Regions from separate parts of the Homo sapiens genome. Here region 2 is linked to region 1. The links are contacts of gene promoters, found by promoter capture Hi-C in blood cells and fetal thymus (Javierre and others, 2016). All regions are on one chromosome and are shown on one strand. The core of a region is centred on a gene start or on the middle of the fragment in contact, and the rest is flanking DNA. Distances in the headings are between cores, read along the strand shown.

Region 1 (6,785 bases), core at 2,532-5,031:
GAAATGCAAAAAGAGTAAGGGAATAGGGATGGGAAACCACTGGATGCATGGATAAACTACCAAGTGACCTAGACTAGGTAGGTGACTGTATAGGGTACCTAAAAGAAAGTGTTTGGAGCTTCACTTGTGTAGAGTATAGGCTTTAGACTTCCTAGGTTTGAATCCTATCTGGCTCTATCACTTTCATCTGAATGGCCTTGGGTATGCTATTAACCACCTAGTGGCTTTGTTTAATCAGAGCAAAATGGGGTTCAGTCATTCATTTAAGAAATAGCTGGGCACTTAATTTGTGTCAGGCACCGTTCTAAGTGCTGGAAATACAACCATGAATACAAAAACATCCCCGTCCTCATGGACCTCATAGTCTATTCACAGACAAATAACAAACAAATTCAGTCCGATGGCCATAAAAGGCACAGAAAATGAAAGGGATGAAACAGATAAGGATGCTATGTTAGTTGAAAACAACAACGGCTAATACGTCTTGTGTGCTTATTTTTTTTTCTCCCCTCAAAATTTGTATATTGAAACCTAATCACCAATGTGAGTAGCAGGAAGTTGGGGCCTTTGGGGTGATTAGGTTATAAGGGTAGAACCCTCACTGTTGGGATTGGTGCCCTTATAAAAGTGATCCCAGAGAGCTAGCTGGGCATGGTGGGGAGCACTTGTAATCCCAGCTACGTGGGAGACTGAGGCAGGAGAATTGCTTGAACCCAAGAGGTGGAGGTTGCAGTGAGCCAAGATTGTGCCACTGAACTCCAGCCTGGGTGACAGAGCAAGACTGTCTCCAACAACAACAACAAAAAACAACAAAATACCTCATATGTTAGATTTTTTAAATTGAGCCTACAAAAGTAATTTATCCATATCTACGTTTAAATCACTCCATATTTCAATACTTAAATTATTATTATTATTTTTTTGAGATAGGGTCTCACTCTGTTACCCAGGCTGGAGTGCAGTGGTACGATCTCAGCTCACTGCAATGTCTGCCCCCGGATTCAAGTGATTCTCCCGCCTCAGCCTCGGAAGTAGCTGGGCCTGCAGGCGCAGCACCACTACGCGGGGCTATTTTATTTTTTTAGTAGCAAGGGTGGTCTCACCATGTTGCTCAGGGTAGTCTCGAACTCCTGAGCTTGGAGCAATCCACTGGCCTCAGCATCCAAAGTGCTGGAATTACAGGTGTGAGCCACCGCACTTGGCCTCCAATTATTATTATTATTATTATTACTAGTTTTTGAGAGTCTTGCTGTGTTGCCCAGGCTGGAGTGCAGTGGCACGATTGTGGCTCACTGCAAACTCTGCCTCCTGGGTTCAAGCAATTCTCCTGCCTCAGCCTCCCGAGCAGCTGGGATTACAGGCACCCACCATCATGGCTGGCTAATTTTTTTTTTTTTTTTTTTTTAAGTAGAGCTGGGGTTTCACAATGTTGGCCAGGTTGGTCTCAAACTCCTGACCTCAGGTGATCCCAACTGACAGATAAAACTGTGTGTATATGTCATGTACAACATAATGTTTTGAAGTATACGTACATTGTGAAATGGTTAACTCTAGCTAATTAAAAAATGTTTTACCTCACATAGTTATTTTAGTAATGAGAACACTTAACATCTGCTGTGTTTTTCAAAAACACAATGTTTTCCAAGATTACAATGTCATTAACTATAGCCACCATGCTGTCCAATAGATCTCTTGAATGTATTCCTCCTATTCAACTGTAATTATGTATCCTTTGACCAACATCTCCCCAACCCTCCTTCACCCCTAACCATGCCAGCCCTTGGTAACCACCATTCTATTCTCTACTTCTATGAACACCAAAATTATTTAAAGGCTGTACTTGTCAAGAAATATAAATGTATCATTTCAAGTTCAGATAATGTGTGTATTTAATTCTTATTTACCTGCCGTTTGAAGACAATAAAGCATATAGAACACAAAATTTAAACCTGATCTTACCTTTGTAAGATAATCCACTTTCAAATTGTCGATCATCATAGTTTTCTGGGATAGCTCAATTTTTAGTAACTGAATATTATGAAGTAGTTCTTTTCGTTCAATTAGCTGCCTGGTGATTCTGACTTTGCCCTCTCGCTCTTCTGATGAGGAAATATCATCCGTAGGAACTGTTGTTTCTAAACTAATATCTTCAGATTCCAGAGAACTAGAGATGTTCACTTTTTTTGACTCCTTTGAAATTTTTCGAGACATTTTTATTATTATGGATCAGTTTTCTTCTCTAATTTGATTTTAATATTCTGTAGGTTAAAAAACATTAATTCAAATGTACTATAAAATTAACTACAGAAATCATGGACTGTATTAAAGAGAGACTAAGGATTCCTTAAATAAATATTAGGCAATTTAGTGCATCCCAAATCTAGAACAGATTATTGCAGTTAAGTTAATGCTCAAATCAAACACATTAATTCCTAATATGAAGTCAGCCTTCGAGAAACTTAAAAAAACAGTTCCTGCGGGGAGGAATCTTACTTGGAGGAAACAAAGAAATGTACAAGATGAAGAAAAAAGCCCATTATAATCAAGAATGGCACCACTAAAACCAACACATGCTCAAAGATAACAGAAATCACGTCTGAGTTGGTCAGGGAAACGTTACACAGAGGTAGCACTTAGAATCTTTAAAGATTTGGACAGGCATGGTAAAAAGGAGAAATCATGCAGTTATTAATGATACGTAAGTGGAAGTAAAAAAACAAAGCCAAGTCTTGGAATAGTTACTCCTTTCACCGCCCCCCCAACACAAACACAAACACACACACACACACACACACACACACACACGCCCTTAACGATCAAGACTGGAAGGCCTTAAATGTCAAAATAGGGTTGGATTTTATTCTACAGGCAATGAGGCATCATTGAAGATGTTTTAAATAGGGAAAACGGGGACAAAAACATTTTTTATAGATAGCAGAATGAAAACAACAGGATATAAGAAAAATTCAAGAAATTCTAAATAGAACTTACTTCTAACTCTCTCATAAGAATGTTAGCAACTACCTTGTTTTAATACCTCATGATATAACAAATTATGCTATTAAATATTTCAGTTTTTCTAAACTGAATGATAAGGAAAGGTGTGTGGAGGGGAAACAGCGAGAACTATACTAAGATCGGCCTCCCTCCTTCTTTTTGAAGGGAAATAGGTAAGAAAAAGTGAATTCAAAGACAAATTCTCTCCTCGATTACAAAGGGCCCGAGACGGGGACTGCCTATACACTCGGCGTGAAAATTAAGCCCCAAACTTGGCAGCTCGGGGGATTCCTTGCCCCACGCGGGAAAGAAAGCGATGATAGTCGCAAGTTACCTCGAAAGTGTCAATTACTCCACACTGAAGCCTTGACCAGCAGCCAGTGCAGACACCGAGGGACCAAAGGCGTCTCCGGTCGGAAGCACAAGGTTGCAGGCCCTCAACAAGGGATTTCAAGGCAGGGGACCGTTAGGACCCGTAACCAAGACAACCATCTCCGCACCCGCAAGGAGGACAGAACCAGCACTCCCACAAGCCGCCGGAAGTCAACTCTCCCGGATGTTCCGAGGAGCGGAAAGCAACACACGTTGTGAGGTGGCGTCCAGAAGGAAGCCCCGCCTAGGCCACGGGCGGAAATGGCTCCTCGCCTTGCTTTGCCGCCCCTCCCCACTCTCGCCCAATCCCCGCGGCCGTCAGAGAGCCAACCAATGTTTATCTCGGCATTTTCCCGCGAGAAGTGTTACTAATATCCGGGAATGGAAAGGGAAGAACCTCCGGGGTTAGGCGTATTCTAGATTGACGCCTTTTGCTGGAAGAGCGCTGCTGGGGTTAGGATTCTGCGCGGCGAGGCAAGATGCTCAAGTCCAAGACGTTCTTAAAAAAGACCCGGGCGGGCGGCGTGATGAAGATCGTGCGCGAGCACTACCTGCGAGACGACATCGGCTGCGGTGCGCCCGGGTGCGCAGCGTGTGGAGGGGCGCACGAGGGGCCGGCCCTGGAGCCGCAGCCCCAGGACCCGGCGAGCAGCGTCTGCCCGCAACCGCACTACTTGCTGCCCGACACTAATGTGTTACTGCACCAGGTGCGTGGGCGGGCGAACCGCGGACAGCGCGGCCCCACGGGGACAAGGGGGTATGACAGGGAAACTGAGGCCCAGGGAGGCGGGTCTTTGGCAGTGTCACATACCTAGCGAAAGGGAAACCCCCTCGGGACCGAAGCTTCCTGTTCCCCAGGCCGAGGTTCTTTTCCTTGTGCTTTAAAAAATTTAGTTCTTGGAGTCGTAGTTCAGACACGTTATTTTTCTAACTCCTGGTGTCTCTTCTGCCTTAGATTGTAAGTGCCTGGAGGCCGGGGACCTGGGCTTCTGTGGCCTCCAGCCTGCGACTCCCAGGCAGCTTGTAAGTGCCTAGGAACAAAAAACTATGTGGGCCAACGTATTCCTTTATTAATACCCTTAATTCTACGAAGTCTTGTGATTGGTCTGTTTAAGTGTGCTTTTTTTAATAGATCTGAAGGGTTTAGTGACTATTGTCTCGTTTTCTATAGCCAAATAGCTTCTTGGCTTAACTTATTCAGTGTTTTTAAAACATAAAGTATTTATGCCCAACATAAAACAGGATTTTATGTTTGACAGAGCTATTTACAAATGAATATAGGAAAAATTAACTTTATCTTTCTTTAAGATTGATGTTCTTGAGGACCCTGCCATCAGGAATGTAATTGTGCTACAAACAGTTCTTCAAGAAGTGAGAAATCGCAGTGCCCCCGTATATAAACGCATCCGAGATGTGACTAATAACCAAGAGAAGCATTTCTATACTTTCACTAATGAGCACCATAGGTAGGAGGAATATTACGTTAAATATCAGAAAACCACAGGATTAGCAAAATTCGGGAGAGGGTTCCTGTGAGTAATTTATGACATTGTCAGAAGATAAGTGATAGATTTCATACCTTATTTAATTCTTACATGGCTGTGCAGAAGATAATGCTAAGTGGATCTCTCTAAGGTCACACAGGCATTGATGGGCTCAAGCCTAAAACCAAGGTCTGCTGACTCCTAGACTACAATAGGTACTTTAATTTCCAAAATGTTTTCATTTTGAATTGGTTTTAGCATGAGTTGGACCATAGAATCTTGGAAGATGAGATTTGCTTAAGTTCCTGGAATACCATATTATGTGAACAACTAACAGAGGGTAATAAAATATATGAGTTTGTGAAGTTTCTATTTTGTTTAAAAATAGAAAGTAGATTTATTCTTAATGGTCTTTTTAAAAGTTTAATACTTTGCAGCTGATTACATTGAGCAAGATTAGGTTAAGGAATAGAATTCTTTTTTTTTTTTTTTTTTTTTTTTTGAGATGGAGTCTCACTCTGTCACCCAGGCTGGAGTGCAGTGGTGTGATCTCTGCTCACTGCAACCTCCACCTCCCAAGTTCAAGCGATTCTTCTGCCTCAGCCTCCTGAGTAGCTGGGATTACAGTCACGCACCACTATGCCAGGCTAATTTTTGTATTTTTAGTAGAGACAGGGTTTCACCATGTTGGTCAGGCTGGTCTCGAATTCCTGACCTCGTGATCCACCTGCCTCAGCCTCTCAAAGTGGTGGGATTACAGGCATGAGCTACCGTGCCTGGCCAGGAATATAATTCTTTGTTGTGCTTTTAGATTCAAGACCTTTGAACTCAGTGTGTGGTCTCAAAAATATGATATTGCCTATTACGTTATATTACATAAATAATCTATGATGAGTATGGTACTTTTATTGGATTAGATCAGGGCTTCTCAATCTTGGCATTATAGATATTTTGAACTGAATAATTTTTTTGTGGTGGAAAGGCTGTTTTATACATTGTAGTATGTTTAACAGTGTTCCTAGCCTATTTGGCAGGATCACCACCCCTTACCCCCCCCACCACCACCACCACCACCACCACTCAGTTGTAATGATACAAAATGCCCTGAGGGGTGAATTCACTCAATTGAGAACCATTGGATTAGAGTGTAGACTTCTGGTAATGAAATTCCATCAGATTATGCACATTTTTAAAAACCTTAATATCTCAACTTTCTTGATTCTTATATCTCAAACTTCAATGTTCTTGTAAAGAATACCAGTAAAGCCCTTGTAGGCTTCTTATTGTTAGTACCTCCTTGAAATCCAGAAATAGCAACATCACTTGTTTTTCAGTGCAGAAAGACCCAAGTTTAAAACCAATTCAAAAATTTATGACTGTGTCTTTCACTGATGAGCTTAAAACATTAGCAGCTGGGCGTGGTGGCTTATGTCTGTAATCCTGGCACTTTGGGAGGTTGAGGTGGGCAGATCACTTGAGGCCAGGAGTTCCAGACCAGCTTAGCCAACCTGGAAAATCCCTGTCTCTTAAAAATACAAAAATTAGCTGGTTATGGTGGTACATGCCTCTAGTCCCAGCTACTTGCGAGGCTGAGTTGGGAGGATCACTTGAACCCGGAGGTAGAGGTTGCAGTAAGCTGAGATCATGCCACTGCACTCCAGCCTGAGCTACAGAGCAAGACTCTGTTTCAAAAAAAAAAAAAAAGCATTAGCAAGTGCATTCAACGATGAGGAATAAAATAATTCTAAAACTATTAATATAAATCAAATTATTAAATTGAATCTATTACCATTAAGTACTGGAAGCTATTGTAGTGAACTTTGCTGTTGTACTTAAACCTGGCTTTGATGAACAGATTTAAAGAAATAGATGAATGTGTTGACATACTTGGGAGTTTAGATAGAAGAAATACGTAATATCTATTAATATACC
Region 2 (6,785 bases), core at 442-2,941, about 42 Mb after region 1:
GACACCACCTCCCGGTAGTAAATTGTGACTATTCCGAGTTTTGGAGTCATTCTTCGTTGCCTGTTTTATTAGGGCAGCAAAACGCCTGTGGCTAGGGCGGGAGTGGGCGGAGGCAGGTTTGAGCCAATGGCACGGGAGCGGCCCTGTCGCTGCCATGGCAACGGCGGCCGTTCTCCGGGGACCGGCTGCCCATTGGGTAGAATCTTTCCAGAAGGCTCGAGAAGAAGGAAGCGGAAGTGGCACGTGGAGGGGCCGGTGGAGGCGCCGGTGAGTAAATGCCGCAGATTCTGGAAAGTTCTGATCAGTGCGATACATAAGGCTGAGGAAGTGGGACCTCCCCTTTTGGGTCGGTAGTTCAGCGCCGGCGCCGGTGTGCGAGCCGCGGCAGAGTGAGGCAGGCAACCCGAGGTGCGGAGCGACCTGCGGAGGCTGAGCCCCGCTTTCTCCCAGGGTTTCTTATCAGCCAGCCGCCGCTGTCCCCGGGGGAGTAGGAGGCTCCTGACAGGCCGCGGCTGTCTGTGTGTCCTTCTGAGTGTCAGAGGAACGGCCAGACCCCGCGGGCCGGAGCAGAACGCGGCCAGGGCAGAAAGCGGCGGCAGGAGAAGCAGGCAGGGGGCCGGAGGACGCAGACCGAGACCCGAGGCGGAGGCGGACCGCGAGCCGGCCATGTCGGTGGTGGGGTTGGACGTGGGCTCGCAGAGCTGCTACATCGCGGTAGCCCGGGCCGGGGGCATCGAGACCATCGCCAATGAGTTCAGCGACCGGTGCACCCCGTAAGTGGGAGTCTGCGAGGGTGGATGGGAGGAGGTTCTGGGCCCTTAGTGTGGGGACCCAAGATCGCGGGCTGGCTGTACGGATCACCGCGGCAAACGGAGGCGTTTGGGCAGCGGCGCACCCCTCCGTGGAACTAGGGACCAGCGACCCGGCCAGAGGAGGGATGGGGGGCTTGCCATCACAAATTGGAGAAGGGATTGTCTCAGGGATTCACGGGGGTGAGAGGAGTCCCAGAGTCGAGACTCTAAGGGTCGTCACCTTGTGCGGGCTTCCTATTGGGGGTTTTCAAAACCTACTGGGGGTCGGGCTGCGGCAAAGCCCGCAACTTCGCTCCCTTTTCTTGGCAGGCTGCAGCCTGCGCCTTCCGCGGCCGCCCCCGTATCCCCACCCGGCCTCTCTGAGCTGGCTGAGCCGCCTCCAGCTTGTCCTCCTCCCTTCGCGCATATCTTTGCGCACCGCGGAGCGGGGCTGCCGGCCTTTTTCTTCCGCATTGTGAATCTCGAAATGAACTGGAAGCTTCCAGAGCTTGTGTCGCTGCTTGTCCAGTGAGCAGGCGGATTGTTGTTAGCGACCACGGAAGCAGTCCTATGAAAGATTAGCCCACCTCTTTTTACCCAGTCTCTTCGTTGCTAACATTGTTGGCCTTAATGCCCGGGATCATTGTCGAAAGATGTAAACGTCTTTTTTTTTGCTCTTTGCCATTCATGAGGAATTGTAAACCGTATTTTTAAAATTAATTTTGCACAGTTTATTTAAAAGAGAATAAAAATTGCATACTTTTGTGCTAGGACGCCAAAAGAGGATGGATGTCGTCACTGAACTAAATATTCTATAGGAGCATAGGGTGGGCAAAGGGCAACATTTTAAAAAGCAAGTTTCGTGAAGGGATATTTTCGGACGAGAATATATACAAACATATCTGCATGTGCATTGATGAAAACAAATGATTTCATCTCAAGGAAAATACTGTACCTATTAATTTTTTTCAAATGTCCCAAGCTCAGGATGAAAAGTGCAAAATGAAAACATTGAACCTAAAGGTAGAATGAATGACTGGGGTAATACAATTATTTGGGTGCTGAGAACGTTTATGAAAGTTGAGTGGAAAATCTGAGGCAAAATATTTGGCAATGTTAGTAACGTTAGGAAGACTGTTCTGAGCAACCTGTACGTCTACCCCTGCAGATCTAAGTTTGTGTTTTGGTTAAGGTTTTTTTAATTGGAGTTTAGTAAGAAAGAAAACAGTATTTCAGGCTTTCATGCCTAGATACAGTTTATACTTTGTTCTGGTTGATCCAATAAAACAAAGAAAAGCTTTTCAGAGAAGAGAGTGGGAAAAAAAATTGTGTTATACAGGGACTACTGTGTGAAATCAAAGACAACAGGTATGGCCCTGAAAAATGTGAACTGAGGGCAGTATTGGAGTTCCCCTTAATATGTTTGTTAAACTATAATTGTGGTGGATTCTATTGTATCAGCTACTAATTGTTATTTAGTACAATTAATTTGATTCTCCCCTAGGAAAATGAGTAGATCCATTCTGCAAGTGTATGGTTATTCAGAGCTTACAGTGATGCTCTGATTTTGACGGTTTCTTGTCTAGCTTCTGCTTGGACACTTCTCTGGCTTTTAGGATGCTATTTTATTTAACACTTGCTCAGATAATATAGTTTGAGGATGTTTCTATTATAGCAAATTTAAACTTAAGGGTGGTACTTAATGCCCTCAGTATTTTCCCGTTTTGCTCATCTCGTTTACCATTACTCATACCTAAGCAGGTAGGAGTAACTCACCCAAAATTAGATTATATTTGAATTAGTAATCCAGAATTAGATAACTCCTCTAATCCAAAACCTAATTCACTTACCTTCTTCTCACAAGACTTTTTAAGCTAGTCTCTGCTCTGTTATTGTGCGGTTCCATTTCCATGGTGGCTGAGAAGGTTGTTTCACAGTTGTAAGTCACTTTCCATCTCTTCAAAACAGATTTGATGTAACTGATTAGTCACTCCTTTCCCTCGACATTTATATTCTGTTTTGCCATGGTACTTGTTGTGCATCATTTTTTTCTTTCTCCGGCAGAATCTCCCAGATGGGAACCTCTTTGTGCTCTTTAAACTTCAGAGGTGTAACTTGGGTTCATTTGCTTGCGTTTGCATAAAAACTTTTGATTCCTAAAGAAGCCGGTGGTATATCAGAACAAAAGTCGGTATGACAATGACATTTAGATTTGTACAGAGTTGGTGACTGAAAGGTAGAGTCACATCCTATTTTTTGTTAGTCGTGTGTAGGGTCAAATTAATAATACCGTTAACATATTTAAAACATTTTCAAAGTTAATGTTCGGTTCATAATAACTGGAACCTGGAGAATTCCTGAGCCACGAGCAGAGGTTTTTGGGGTAGTAGAACTGCCACCTAGGTTGGATCTCAGAGCAGCAATTAAGTGGAAGCCCCCTTTGAGTATCTGATGAAAGCTATAGACCTTAAAATTGTGCTATGCTTGTTCCCTATCCCCTAATGGGTAGGACATTTATGTTAGTATTTTTCTCTTATCAGTTTAAAATATCAACCTTTATGCTTTTTAATTTTTTGGAATATATTTTTTTCTAGGTCAGTCATATCATTTGGATCAAAAAATAGAACAATCGGAGTTGCAGCCAAAAATCAGGTATGTTCTTTAAGAGAATTCGGATCACTTTTTAAGGGGGGAGTTTTTAAAAGGAAAATCTCAAGAGACATATAAGAGGGTAAAGTGTGCCTAAGTTTATGTATTTTTGAGTTTTAAAAATGTAATTCAAGTATTCTTTATGAACCTTCAGATGATGACACTCTTTCCTTTCTGTTCCCTTTCCCTTGTTTTATTAAGATCGACTTTAACTTTCTAATCTGCCATCCTTAACTTTTTTTTTTTTTTTTTTTTTTTTTGAGATAGAGTCTCGCTCTGTTACCCAGGCTAGAGTGCAGTGGCGCGATCTCGGCTCACTGCAACCTCCGCCTCCCGGGTTAAAGCGATTCTCCTGCCTCAGCCTCCTGAGTAGGTGGGATTACAGGCGCGTGTCACCACGCCCAGCTAGTTTTTGTATTTTTAGTGGAGATGGGGTTTCACCATGTTGGTCAGACTGATCTCGAACTCCTGAGCTCGTGATCCATCTGTCTCAGCCTCCCAAAGTGCTGGGATTACAGGTGTGAGCCTACGCCTGGCCTGCTGACTTTAACTTTTAGTAACTTTTTGCTGCCTTTCATTTATCTAATTTTTAGAAATTATAAACAAGGCATTTTAAGTTCTTGTGAAGTTTCTCGTGATACTCATTTAAGAGATTCCTTTTATAGAAGGAACTTCTAAGAAATTATGTGTTTAAAAGCATTTTCAGGTTACTTAGTAATTAAGGTAGGACTGGGAGAAATTTTTGTCCAGACCTGTGCTGTTTAAAAAATATGGTAGCCATGTACTGTATTGAGCATTTGAAATGTGGCTCGTCTGAATCAAAATGTGAAGTATAAAATACACATGAGATTTTTTACTTTTTAATCGAATTGAAAAGTAAAGTACGGTATCTGATCAATTTTTTTCTGTTGACTACTTATTGAAGTGATAGTTCCTAAAATATATTGGCCTAAGTTAATTGAAATTAATCTAATCTCTTACCAGTTTTTAACGTGGCTGCTACAAAATTTTATGTAGGTAGCTCTCCTTTATGACTTACATATAATTCTGTTGAACAGCACTGATCTAGACAGACCCCTTGGAGGTGGAGAGAAAAACAGTAAAAGATACGTGAAATGCTCTTTGAGAGGCTCTTTGAAATAAAAAACATTTTTCTAAATACAGAAAATAGATTGCTAAGAAAGAAAATTTTGGATTAGATTGAGTACTGTATTATATATTATGGAATGTATTTAGTACTGACCTATTAAAAAATCAGGTCAGATTTGAAAACAAAAACATCTCTTAAAATGCTTATGTTTAATAAGAAATTGGCACTTTATCAAACTTATGAATCTGCTTTCATTAGAAAATGGTTTCATGTTTTCTAATCCTTTGAATATGTAGGTTGGATTTAACTTTATTTCCTTGTTACATTGGAAGAGAGAGATAACTAAAAGGGGTGAAAAAGGAAAGGAGAAATAGGCACACTCAAAATATGTTCAAAAGGATAGTGGGACTTTAGTTGTAACAATCCTTTAAATGTGCCCATTGAGGATATTGATAGCCTAGACCTAAAATTCTGTTGCATCCTTGTGATTACTTGAGAAGAATCTGTTGAGACTCATATTTGGCCAGTATACTACTAGACATACTTCATCTCAGTTTTAGACACATAAGGAATTTTAAGACCTAAACTTGCTTGAATTCTATATTGTTTGAAAACTAGTACTGCCAAGCTAACTGTATTCTTCCCTTTATTCAAAAAATTAGGTAAGAGAAAAAGTAAATAATATACTGTTTTGGTATTTTTAAGCTAATAATTTCAGAAGTCTTAGTTTTCAATCTTACAGTTATTTCTTGTTTCAAATGAGGTACCCTTGAGTGAAATGTGCTCTGAAGTGGGGCTTTTCAATCTAGAGTTTACCTAAAATATTTGACCAAAACGGTGGATTAAAAAAACACCATCTTTTACAACAGTTTAACAAACGTGCGCCAGTTGTGTAAGATAGCAGTTCAATTTCTTGTTTTTAAAAACCATGGCTCTCAAGTCTTCAGAATACGCACATGCAGTTGAAAACATTAGGTCACTTAGAAACTTGTTGAATTACTCTTCTGCCTTCTACTTTTTGGTGTAGATAACTAGCATTTCATGCTATTGCTAGGAAAGGTAGCGATCCATGCATTTTCTGGCACAGAGTGTTTATCCTGGCCGCTTAGCAATTTATTAGACTATAAAAATTAACTTTAATTTTTTTTTTTTTTGAGAATGAGTTTCACCCTTGTTACCCAAGCTAGAGTGCAATGGCACTATCTTGGCTCACTGCAACTTCTGCCTCCCAGGTTCCAGCGATTCTCCTGCCTCAGCCTCTCAATTAGCTGGGATTACAGGCATGTGCTGCCATGCCCAGCTATAAAAATTAACTTTTTTTTTTGTTTTGAGACGGAATCTCGCTCTGTCGCCCAGGCTGGAGTGCAGTGACACGATCTTGGCTCACTGCAAGCTCCGCCTCCTGGGTTCATGCCATTCTCCTGCCTCAGCCTCCCGAGTAGCTGGGACTGCAGGTGCCCGCAACCACGCCCGGCTAATTTTTTGTATTTTTAGTAGAGACGGGGTTTCACCGTGTTAGCCAGGATGGTCTCCATCTCCTGACCTCGTGATCCACCCGCCTTGGCCTCCCAAAGTGCTGGGATTACAGGCGTGAGCCACCGCGCCTGGCCAAAAATTAACTTTTTTAAACAAAATTATAATTTGGCTATAGTGCTACTAGATCTATTCATTCATTGGGTATAAAACCTCACAAGTTTAGCAGGGAAAAAAAGGAATGAAACAGTGATAAAATTCTAGTGTGTTTGTTCAGAGCTTTAGTGATAGTTTTCACTGTCTTTGAGTTTATCTTGCAGATTTTGAAATCTTTAAAGTCTGTCGTCACACTATTTTGCCTCTTGTTCCCTCTTGCTGCTTACTTTCTGGCATTTTCTATAGGAGAAGGAAAAAGTATAAATAAAATCTGTTCATAGATGGGAAATTCAGTGAAATTGGTGGGCCTCAGGGCAACTTATGTGCACTCATAGGATTGGTTTGAGTTGTAAAGTGAATAAATAAAATTACTAAAATTACTGGTAGGTGGTGAAATTAAAGAAAAAAATTAAAATCTCAAACTTCTTTTTGCAGCAAATCACTCATGCAAACAATACGGTGTCTAACTTCAAAAGATTTCATGGCCGAGCATTCAATGACCCCTTCATTCAAAAGGAGAAGGAAAACTTGAGTTACGATTTGGTTCCATTGAAAAATGGTGGAGTTGGAATAAAGGTAATATAATTGAGCAACCTTAGAAAAATACCAACTTATTAATACTTAAA

What was found. Contacts are between HindIII fragments. The CHiCAGO score rates a contact against its expected background, and 5 or more counts as called.
Region 2: a fragment that was not itself captured here is called in contact with the fragment with the promoter of DIS3 in region 1 in 1 of 17 cell types (total B cells); the score reaches 5.4 in total B cells.

What each region holds. Positions count from the first base shown.
Region 1 is chr13:72,778,896-72,785,680 of GRCh38, reverse strand. It overlaps DIS3 (DIS3 exosome endoribonuclease and 3''-5'' exoribonuclease), which reads left to right and starts at 3,781. Exons shown (of 21, transcript NM_014953.5): 1 at 3,781-4,076; 2 at 4,678-4,835. The coding sequence starts at 3,849. PIBF1 (progesterone immunomodulatory binding factor 1) reads right to left here and starts at 3,548. Exons shown (of 18, transcript NM_006346.4): 1 at 3,332-3,548; 2 at 1,960-2,258. The coding sequence starts at 2,211. RefSeq lists enhancers at 3,648-3,757, 3,675-4,589 and a silencer at 4,038-4,087. The HindIII fragment of the contact is 4,441 bases long and covers 1-4,214 here.
Region 2 is chr13:31,155,464-31,162,248 of GRCh38, reverse strand. HSPH1 (heat shock protein family H (Hsp110) member 1) reads left to right here and starts at 345. Exons shown (of 18, transcript NM_006644.4): 1 at 345-773; 2 at 3,386-3,443; 3 at 6,595-6,735. The coding sequence starts at 667. RefSeq lists enhancers at 219-338, 469-548, 160-705, 706-1,251. The HindIII fragment of the contact is 798 bases long and covers 1,293-2,090 here.